Regions from separate parts of the Homo sapiens genome. Here region 1 is linked to region 2. The links are contacts of gene promoters, found by promoter capture Hi-C in blood cells and fetal thymus (Javierre and others, 2016). All regions are on one chromosome and are shown on one strand. Each heading gives the region's core, a stretch centred on a gene start or on the middle of the fragment in contact. The rest is flanking DNA. Distances are from core to core; before and after follow the strand shown.

Evidence for each region. The method cuts DNA at HindIII sites, captures the fragments that hold promoters and counts their contacts. A CHiCAGO score of 5 or more calls a contact.
Region 1: a fragment that was not itself captured here is called in contact with the fragment with the promoter of SRGN in region 2 in 1 of 17 cell types (monocytes); the score reaches 5.1 in monocytes.

Annotation. Positions count from the first base shown.
Region 1 is chr10:69,156,259-69,161,272 of GRCh38, reverse strand. It overlaps VPS26A (VPS26 retromer complex component A), which reads right to left. Exons shown (of 9, transcript NM_004896.5): 4 at 4,110-4,266; 5 at 3,062-3,226. Among named protein-coding and RNA genes, the nearest start is that of SUPV3L1, 21 kb to the left of the region's middle. The HindIII fragment of the contact is 465 bases long and covers 1,174-1,638 here.
Region 2 is chr10:69,085,260-69,090,151 of GRCh38, reverse strand. SRGN (serglycin) reads right to left here and starts at 2,049. Exons shown (of 3, transcript NM_002727.4): 1 at 1,916-2,049. The coding sequence starts at 1,994. RefSeq lists a silencer at 1-20 and enhancers at 719-1,918, 3,566-3,735. The HindIII fragment of the contact is 21,371 bases long and covers 1-4,892 here.

The DNA.
Region 1 (5,014 bases), core at 157-2,656, 72 kb before region 2:
CCTAGGCAACATAGGGGGATGTAATCTCTTCTAAAAATTAGCTGGGTGGTGCAAAATTAGTGGCACATGCCTGTGATCCTAGCTACTCAGGAGGCTGAGGTGAGATGATAATTTGAGCCTGGGAGATTGAGGCTGCAGTGACTCATGATTGTGCCACTGCACTCCAGCCTGGGTGACAGAGCCAGACTCTTTCTCAAAACAAACACACACAAAAAATACTTGAAATATTTGGTGTATGAAGATATTTTCAACATTAAAAGACACAAGAGTTTAGTGTCATTATTACTCAAGTTCTACAAGAGTGCAGCTAACATAAATCATCTGCCCACAAAGACAAAGTAAAAGAAACCTACCTACATAGGTTGAGTCTGCTGTTGTGATAGCTAATAACCAAAGGTCGCTCCCACGTACCTTGTAATGATGTGGTAATAAACTTAGGAATCCCTATAATATCCAGAGGACTTTTTAGCATCCTCCCAGGTTTGGCTCTCAAAATTGTATCTCAAGAGTTGGTTAATATAAATTATGTCAGGCCGGGCACGCCTGTAATCCCAGCACTTTGGGAGACCAAGGCGGGCAGATCACCTGAGGTCAGGAGTTCAAGACCAGCCTAGCCAACATGGTGAAACCCCATCTCTACTAAAACTACAAAAATTAGCCGGGCGTGGTGGCACATGCCTGTCATCCCAGCTACTCAGGAGGCTGAGGCAGGAGAATTGCTTGAACTCAGGAGGTAGAGGTTGCAGTGAGCCGAGATCATGCCACTGCACTCCAGACGGGACGACAGAGATTCCGACTCCAAAAAAAAAAAAATATGTTGGGCGCGGTGGCTCATGCCTATAATCCCAGCACTTTGGGAGGCCAAGGCGGGTGGATCATGAGGTCAGGAGTTTGAGACCAGCCTGACCAACATGGTGAAACCCCGTCTCCACTAAAAATACAAAAATTAGCCAGGCATAGTGGCAGGCACCTGTAATCCCAGCTACTCAGGAGGCTGAGGCAGGAGAATCCCTTGAACCCAGGAGGCAGAGGTTGCAGTGAGCCGAGATCACGCCATTGCACTCCAGCCTGGGCGACAAAGTGAGACTCAAACAAACAAAAAACTGTGTGTGTGTGTGTGTGTGTGTGTGTGTGTGTGTGTGTGTAAAAATTATGTCAGTCTGAAGGGAAGCTTCAGTGGTTTCAGGTCCTAAACTATTTGATAATTTCATCAACAATATAATTTTAAGATTCTGAAGTCCATATGTATTACATATTCAGTGATATAAACCTGGGAGTGACAACCAATAAAAATAATGTAACAAAAGACTGGGGTATGAAAGGGATAATACAGGGCACATCCATTTCTTCAACAAACAAACTTTAATAAAAAAAATAGAAGGGAAACCTATAAATTAAAAAATTTAAGGCTCAAACAACCAAATGCAATGTGTGGCCCTAGTTTAAATATTGATTTGAACAAAGTATGTGAAAAAAGAAAGATATCTGTGAGCCAATTAGGGAAATGTGAATACTGTCTGGGTGTATGAAGATATTAAGGAATTACTAATATTTTTAGATATAAGAGTATTGTAGTTATATTTAGAATGATATATAACTTTTTAAAACTTTTTTCTGAATAGACACAGAAAACAAGCTTGTCATATAACATTTAAATAAGAGATATGTAAAGTCAATACATAATTTCATCCTTTACAGATAACCACTGTTAACAACAGAATATCATTGCAGACTCTTTTCTATTCATATCCAAATACATGAGTATTTTACAGAAATGAAACAGTACTATGCATGCTGTTTTTATGGCTAAATTTTTCACTTAATATATCATGGACACGCTTCTGGAGAACTAAATACATATGTCTCAATCTTTTTTTTTTGTTTTTTTTTTTGAGATGGAGTCTCCCTCTGTCACCCAGGCTGGACTGCAGTGGCGTGATCTCAGCACACTGCAACCTTTACCTCCCAGGTTCAAGCAATTCTCCTCCCTCAGCCTCCCAAGTAGCTGGGATTACAGGCATGCACCGCCACACCCATCTAATTTTTGTATTTTCAGTGGAGACGGAGTTTCTCCATGTTGACCATGCTGGTCTCAAACTCCTGACCTCAGGTGATCAAACTCTGCCCACCTTGGCCTCCCAAAGTGCTGGGATTACAGGTGTGAGCCACCGCACCCGGCCTCAATCTTTTTAACCCTTCTTTAGCATTCCACAGTATGGCTGGACCATAATTTATTTAACTGTTATAATACCAGTGGGCATTTAAATGGCAATCTTTTGTTCATGTAAGTAATGTTTCTGAGAACATCTTAGTCCATGTATAAAATGATATTGATACAGCTTCCCACAGATTGTATCGAAGCAAATTCCACATATATAATTTAATTGATAAAATGATACATAATTTTATGGGTTAAATTAAATGTCTGGAATTTGCTTCAATATAACCTATGGGGAGTATGAGAGCTGAATACAGATAAACTGGATTGTGTGTTGATAACTGTTGGAGCTGGGCAATGGGTACATGAGGATTCATTATATTATTCAGTATACTGTTCAAATATTTTAGTATATGCTTGAAATTTCCCATAATAAAATTTAAAAAGGCATTAAACACAAGCAAAATATGAGCCAGTTTTGTAAAAATACAACATATATAAACATATATACCTTCCCCCTCCCCCCAAGAAATGATATACAAGGAGACATTAACAGTGATTAAGTGGTAAAGGTGAAAATATGTGAAAAGAGATGGCTAGGATGAGGTAATATCAAGCCAGTAAGATAAATTGTATCCTCAGAAGGACTGGCTGCCTTCTGAGATGGTGACATCCTCTACACAAAGTGGCCAAGCAGAGATTTATCAGGAATAGAACATAAAAGACACCTTTACTGAGTGGAAACCAGACCAAACTCCTAAAATTTCTTTTAGCTCAGAGATCCTGTTGATTTGTTAACATCAGATTAATGTCAATTCTATCCTTACTTTGACCAACTGACAAACACCTGAAAAGTTAATTTTTGAATTTTCTCTGAACAACTTATCTGTGAATGATACTTACTTTGATTTATTATATTCAAATTCTATATGTAGACAATCTTCAATGCCCACTTCCATCTTAATAGAGTTGTTAACATCAGGATAGGTGGCAAGCTGGTGAACAATAAGATCATACTCTTTTACCAAATCTGTCAGTCTTCTCACTATTGTCACTTTAAGAAAATACCTACAAAGTTAAAAGAGAGTCGATGAGTTAAATCACCTGTGATAAATTTTCATGTTTTAAATCAGCAAACATTAACTGCAACTCAGGCTTCTCCTCCTTGCTGGAACTCCTTTGGGATCAACTTACTTCATTACTTCACGAAGGAGTTCCAATTTTCTTTAATGCCCCCAACATGAAAAAAAATACAAAGTTCAATTTTAAGAATAGTGTAAATACTTTACAGATGAGTTTGGAGGGCTGTCATCAAGCCTACTTGAAGAAACCTCTCCAGATCACTTCTTTAAGGAACTGCTATTTGAAATTTGGGTTGTCAAACCCAGTTCCAGATAGATAATGCCAAGTTAAACAGAGAAAGCAAGATCTCGGACCTGATGCATTCAGATTAATATCCTGAAATGCCCTGGACTCTGAGGCATCCCTGGCTTCCTGCATACAGACTTAGTGAAGGGAAAGGACACTGAATTGAGAGTTTAGAAAACTAGGTTCGTACTCCTTTTCTGCCATCCACTATTTGTGTCATTTTAGATGTATCAGAGCCTCTCTGGTACTCCAGATTACTTCTGAACCATATACTAAAGGAGATTTTCTGGGAAACTAGTGGATTTAGAAGGTCATTCAGTTTACATGACAAATGAAGTACGTAAGGGACAATTCATACCAGGGAAGTGTATAACTGAAATGTCTCATAACAATGTTGTCTAACTCTATAATGTTAGAACGCTCTATTACCTCAAATCAGCATTAGCCAAAGTATGTGACAGAATTTTTAAAAATCTTAAATCTTCCAATACAGAATTATAATTAGAGGTTCAAATAAGATATCAACAGTAGTCATTACTTTCTGGTTTTGATTCTGTTTACAGTTTATAATACACATTCATACCTCAAGCGGACATTGGCACCGATGTAAGATTCATATGGCTTTTCAACTTGCATAAATTCAAAATCATAACTTCTGCTCTGAGTCAGTTCTCCAGGTAAGGCTAGTTCTTTCACTAGGTTTACAAATTCATGAGTATTACTCTTGTCATTGAAAAGTTCTGAGAAATTTTAAAAGGCAAAAAGACCAATTATTTAATAGCCATTTCAATAAAACCCAGACATCTACTTCAAACACAAACGATTTTTACCAAAAGAATTATTGAGTTTGTCTCTAATAAACTAGACCTATGCTCTGAATTCCATTATCCTTTTTATAATTATACTTCATGTAGGCATAAAAGATTTCAAGTGGCATAGCACAATGAAAATTTCTTTAAAAATGAGTTCATTCCTTTGATGTAGTTGGGGCTCTCCCAATATGAAGCCATTTGACACATTACCAGCAATTATTTGAACTTCCCCTAGACAAGGCAAAAATTCTATTTTGCTTTAGTTAGGCAAATATATTACCTTCATAAAATTACAAAACACAAAAAGACTAAAACCAACTATCAATTACTACAACTTGCCTCTCAGTCAGAATAGACATGTAAGTACACTCTCAGTCAGAACAGATATATAAATATCTACCCATTCCAATTCTGATACTTTAAAAATGTACACTGAAACTTAGAAAGCTAGATTTTAAGCCTAGTTATGTAGACAGTATTATAAAGACATATTTTCTTTTCTCTTCTGAATCTTCAGTATAGAAAGATTTATATAGTTTAACTCCCTACTAAATCAAGCATTCATCTGGAATCATGTATGGAAATGTACATAAGTTGATCTAAGTCAAGAAGAAACTACACCTTTCCTTCTCACATGGAATTGTGTGTTGACACAAGTGAGTCTGGCTACAGGCAC
Region 2 (4,892 bases), core at 800-3,299:
GGGGGACATCTATTTCCCTGCATGCTCAGATGTGGGCACAAGCCCTTGAGCCCGATACTGAGAGCCTTTTTTCGGAAACACCCTAGTTTGTCAGTTTCTCCCTTGTCTCTTTCTATGGTTTCCTTTTCTAACAAAGAGCTAAACCTACGAGGTCATGACATAAATGCTAGTATTCTATACAATTTCATGATGAATTATTTTCTTTCCTTCTCTTTCTTTCTTTCCTTTCTTTCTCTCTCTCTCTCTTTCTTTCTTTCTGACAGAGTCTTGCACTGTCACCTAGGCTGTAGTACAGTGGTGCAATCTCAGCTCACTGCAACCTCCACCTCCCAGGTTCAAGCAATTCTCCTGCCTCAGCCTCCTGAGTAGCTGGGATGACAGGTGTGTGCCACCATGCCCGGCTAATTTTTTTGTATTTTTGGTAGAGACGGGATTTCACTATGTTGGCCAGGCTGGTCTCAAACTCCTGACCTCATGATCTGCCTACCTTGGCCTCTCAAAGTGCTGGGATTACAGGCGTGAGCCACCATGCCCGGCCTTCTTCATTTCTTTCTAATGAATATTATACAAGGAACGTTTTTGTTTTCATTCTAGTTTTCCTTAATGAATCTTAGTGGGAAATTCATGTTTCTGGGAAATTTTGACAACATAAAGACTTACATATCTCTGGTTGGGGTATGCCCAGCACCATCTGGCCATTCAAGACTGTACTAAAGTATGGGCCTCATTACTCTCGATCTTGTCAGACCACTTGGCTATTCGGGAATTATTTCATCAAGCTGAAGATATTCCCTAAAAGATCCCAGTGAAGCCTGTTCCCTACAATTGACAATGTTTTATATTTTAAAAATACATAAATTAATAACGTTCCAGAAACATTACTTGCTCTTTTTTCAGCATTAGCATAACTAGAAGAAAATGATTTTATAAATTTCCAACATAAAATGAATGTCTCTGCGATCATCTGTAAGATTTCATCTCCACCGGAAGTAAGATCATGACAACCAAAAGTCGCTTTGACGAAACAAATCTAGGACATGTGTGTCATTGTGACTCAACATTTCCCTTACCATTTGGCGGAACCTAGTGTTTTTCTACTATAGGTTCAGCCATCTCTCTATCAAGCCATGACCTCCGTCTTATTTAGACATGATTCCTTATTTGCCAAAGAATAACAAATTGTATTTTTCTTACAAGCCTATCATTTTCATTGTCTTAGTCATTACAGGTTTTAAGTTGTTTCAGTCTGACTAAACAACACTAAATGGTAGATAAACCTAGGAAGATATTTCCGAATATGATGCTTCTCTGAGCAAGAGCACAAATACCAAATTATTTGGCCTTCTCTTTAAAATCTGAGAGGTTTTACATGAACTATGTCTAACCATAATTGAGTTTTCAGTAAGAACCAAGTTTATCTTTAAAAAAAAAAAAAAGAAAAGAAAATACACACAGTCAGATTCACCCCAATTGGAATATAACGTCTCCCAGTGTTAAAATAACAATGACACCGTCACAGCGCACTAAAACTTGGGGCTGATGTAGACACTTAGGGGTAGGCAGACACCCCCCAACAGTCAAAGGTGCCATCTCCTCCATGCAACAGGCACAGGAGTCATTTTCTAGATTCCTTTTTTGAGCTTTTAAAATTTATAAACCTCACATTTTCATCCCAAAATAGCACATTTCAATCATTGTAAGAGTTTACAAGACTGCACACGCCACAGAGTTTAATTTTTCTTGGTACCAAACTTAACAGAACTCATATTAAAGGGTTCAGCGACCCCAAATCCTTCTTCTTTGCCTCCTTTCTCACAATATTATACATTCTATGCCTTAAAATGAATATAATGACTTGCATGGACCACAGGGCTTACAGAGAAGATGGCTGGGGAACAAGACTCCTGAGTCTTACCTTGAACTGAGGATTCCAGAACCAGGATGAGGGCAAGAGCCAGGACAAGCCGACTGCATTTGAGTAGCTTCTGCATCATGACCAACTTAGTCTAGCTCTCCCAGCTGCACGCCAACTTCTTGATTAGGAAATGTAGCAGGGTGCTCTCTGTCCCTTTTAGAAAATGTTCCAAAACCTCAAACCCTGCCCAGAACACACGTCACAATTTCCTGAACAAATAGAAAGACATCCACATCAAAACCCAGAAAGAAAGGGGGTGGGGGGAACACAGTAAAATAACTATTCATACCCATTATGAAACTGTACTGGACTCCCCCCAGGCCTGCTTTTTCAAAAGTTTTGTTGTTTGCCACTTGCCTGCAAGACATTTTTTTTTCCCACCGAAACAGTAGAATCAGCATTTGGGACAGTTTGTTTTTCCTTTCTTCAGGTAACAATCTAAACACTAGATTGCTAATATTAAGAATCTGCTGCATTTTTTATGAGATAAGGGATCTAGGTGCTGCCTTTTCGTCACCAAGCACTTTCAACATAAAACATTCTCTTCATTTTCTTTTTCACCGGGGAGTAACATACCTCACTGAGCCAAGCTCGTGAAGTGAAACTTCAAAGCTGAGCTCTAACCTTCAAGAATGAGTTGTCGGATTTCAGATGAACAGTTTCTTCTTCTTCTTTTTCTTCTTTTTTTTTTTTTTTTTTTTTTTTTTGAGATGGAGTCTCACTCTGTCACCCAGGCTGGAGAGCAGTGGCGCGATCTCAGCTCACTGCAACCTCCATCTCCAGGGTTCAAGCAATTCTCCTGCCTCAGCCTCCTGAGTAGCTGGGATTACAGGCGTACACCACTGCGCTGGACTAATTTTGTATTTTTAGTAGAGACGACGTGTCACCATGTTGGCCAGGCTGGCCTCAAACTCCCAACCTCAGGCCATCCGCCTGCCTCAGCCTCCCAAAGTGCTGGGATTACAGGCGTGAGCCACCGTGCCCAGCAAACAGTTTCTTCTTAAACTCAGTTTCTTGCATTGGATCATTGGCTCTCTCTCTATCTCAAGAACATAGGATTTTCAGTTACAAAGACTGTGGTAAAACAGAAAAACTATTTTGCATTCCCCTCTCCTTCACATTGAGCATTTCTTAAGATGGATTCCATTTCTATTTTTATCTGTTCTCCTAGTCAAAATTTTCAACTCGAGTTTTGGGTCCTCTGGCCTTGAATAAGCCAGAAATCAGGAACGAGGGAGAGGTTGTCCTCACAGTGAGCTGCTGGACCTCAGCAAACAACACAAACCTCTGCCTCATGTAAATAAAGGAACAGCATTTTCCCTGGGCATGGTGCAGATTTCTGGAGGACTAAGGCTCCATATTAAAGTTATACAATAAAGGCCAGGTGCTGTGGTCCACACCTGTAATCCCAGCACTTTGGGAGGCTGAGGTGGGTGGATCACAAGGTCAGGAGATCGAGACCATCCTGGCTAACACCGTGAAACCCCGTCTCCACTAAAAATACAAAAAATTAGCCGGGCGTGGTGGCGAGTGCCTGTAGTCCCAGCTACTCGGGAGGCTGGGGTAGGAGAATCGCTTGAACCCGGGAGGCAGAGGTTGCAGTGAGCCAAGATCGTGCCATTGCACTCCAGCCTGGGTGACAGAGAGAGACTCTATTTCAAAAAACTAAAAATAATAAAATAAAATAAAATAAAGTTATACAATAAATACAAGCCTATCATACATCCTTGCCCTTGTGGCATATACATTTTCCTTACTTCCTTTCAAGATTCAACCACTCTCCATTTCAACATGTCTATCCCTACCGCTCCCCCAGACGGCTTAATGCACGTGCCCCACTTTCCATTCTCATCCTCGCCCTTGCCTGGCCTTTGATAGGAGGGAGGAGTTTCCCTTCCCTTGTTTTAGGCTTCCTGCTGATTCCTTTACCATTTCCTGCTAAGGACAGAGTCTCACAGTCTAATAGCCGTGGTGCAAGAACACAAAGAGTGTACATTTTGGCCCTCCTCAGAAGCCCCTCACATCAGCCAGAAGTGTGTCCTCCAACTCAGGGGCGTCTCCAAGCACAGTAACCAACCCCAAAATGCACTGGCCCGGAAAGTTTTCCACTGAGAAATGTCGGTTTCTGTTTGAAATATCAGATGTCATCTTTGGTCCTTTTAAATCTAACTCCCAATTGAAAACCCTGGCACCAAAACAATAGTTCCTATCAATAGCTTCGATGAGTTTCCTGCAAATCCCCAGAGCTGATTAGGGCTGTGTTTTAAAATGGTAATTTTAGGGGCTTTTTCCATTTGGGAACTTCATTTTTTTTCTTTCTTTCTCTGGGTCATGGTGTTGTTGTTGTTTTTTACCTCTCTCTCTCTGTCGCCCAGGGTGTACCTCCACCTCCTGGGTTCAAGCAAACGCATTTGACTAATTTTTTTTCTTTCTTTCTTTTCTTTTCTTTTCTTTTCTTTTTTTTAGTACAGATGGGGTTTTTGTCATGTTGGCCAAGCTGCCCTCGAACTCCTGACCTCAAGTGATCCACCTGTCTCGGCCTCCCAAAGTGCTGGGATTACAGACGTAAGCCACAACGCCCAGCTCATGGTGACTTTTAAAGCACAGGTGCAGTATTCATAAGCATTTGCTCTTCTCCCACTACGCTGATAATCAAGTCTCTTTTTCTAAGAAGTCCTCCAGTCTCATTTAGCCCTCTTCAAGCTGTAGGGGAGCAGGACACATGCTGCAGCAGCTGGAAGTCCTGGGTCCAAGCCCATGCCCTTCACTTACCAGCTGAGCCACGCTGGGCCACTCACTTTTTATGCGTCCTTTGTTCCAGATGTAATGATGGTGTGGGAAGCCAATGACAGGATGTCCTCAAGAGCACATGGCACACGTGGTGAGGGAGGCATTGGCAACAGTCCTCAGGGCTGGGCATGATCTTACCAAAAGATTCCGCCATTAACCCAATAGGACCCACATCTTTCCCTAAAAG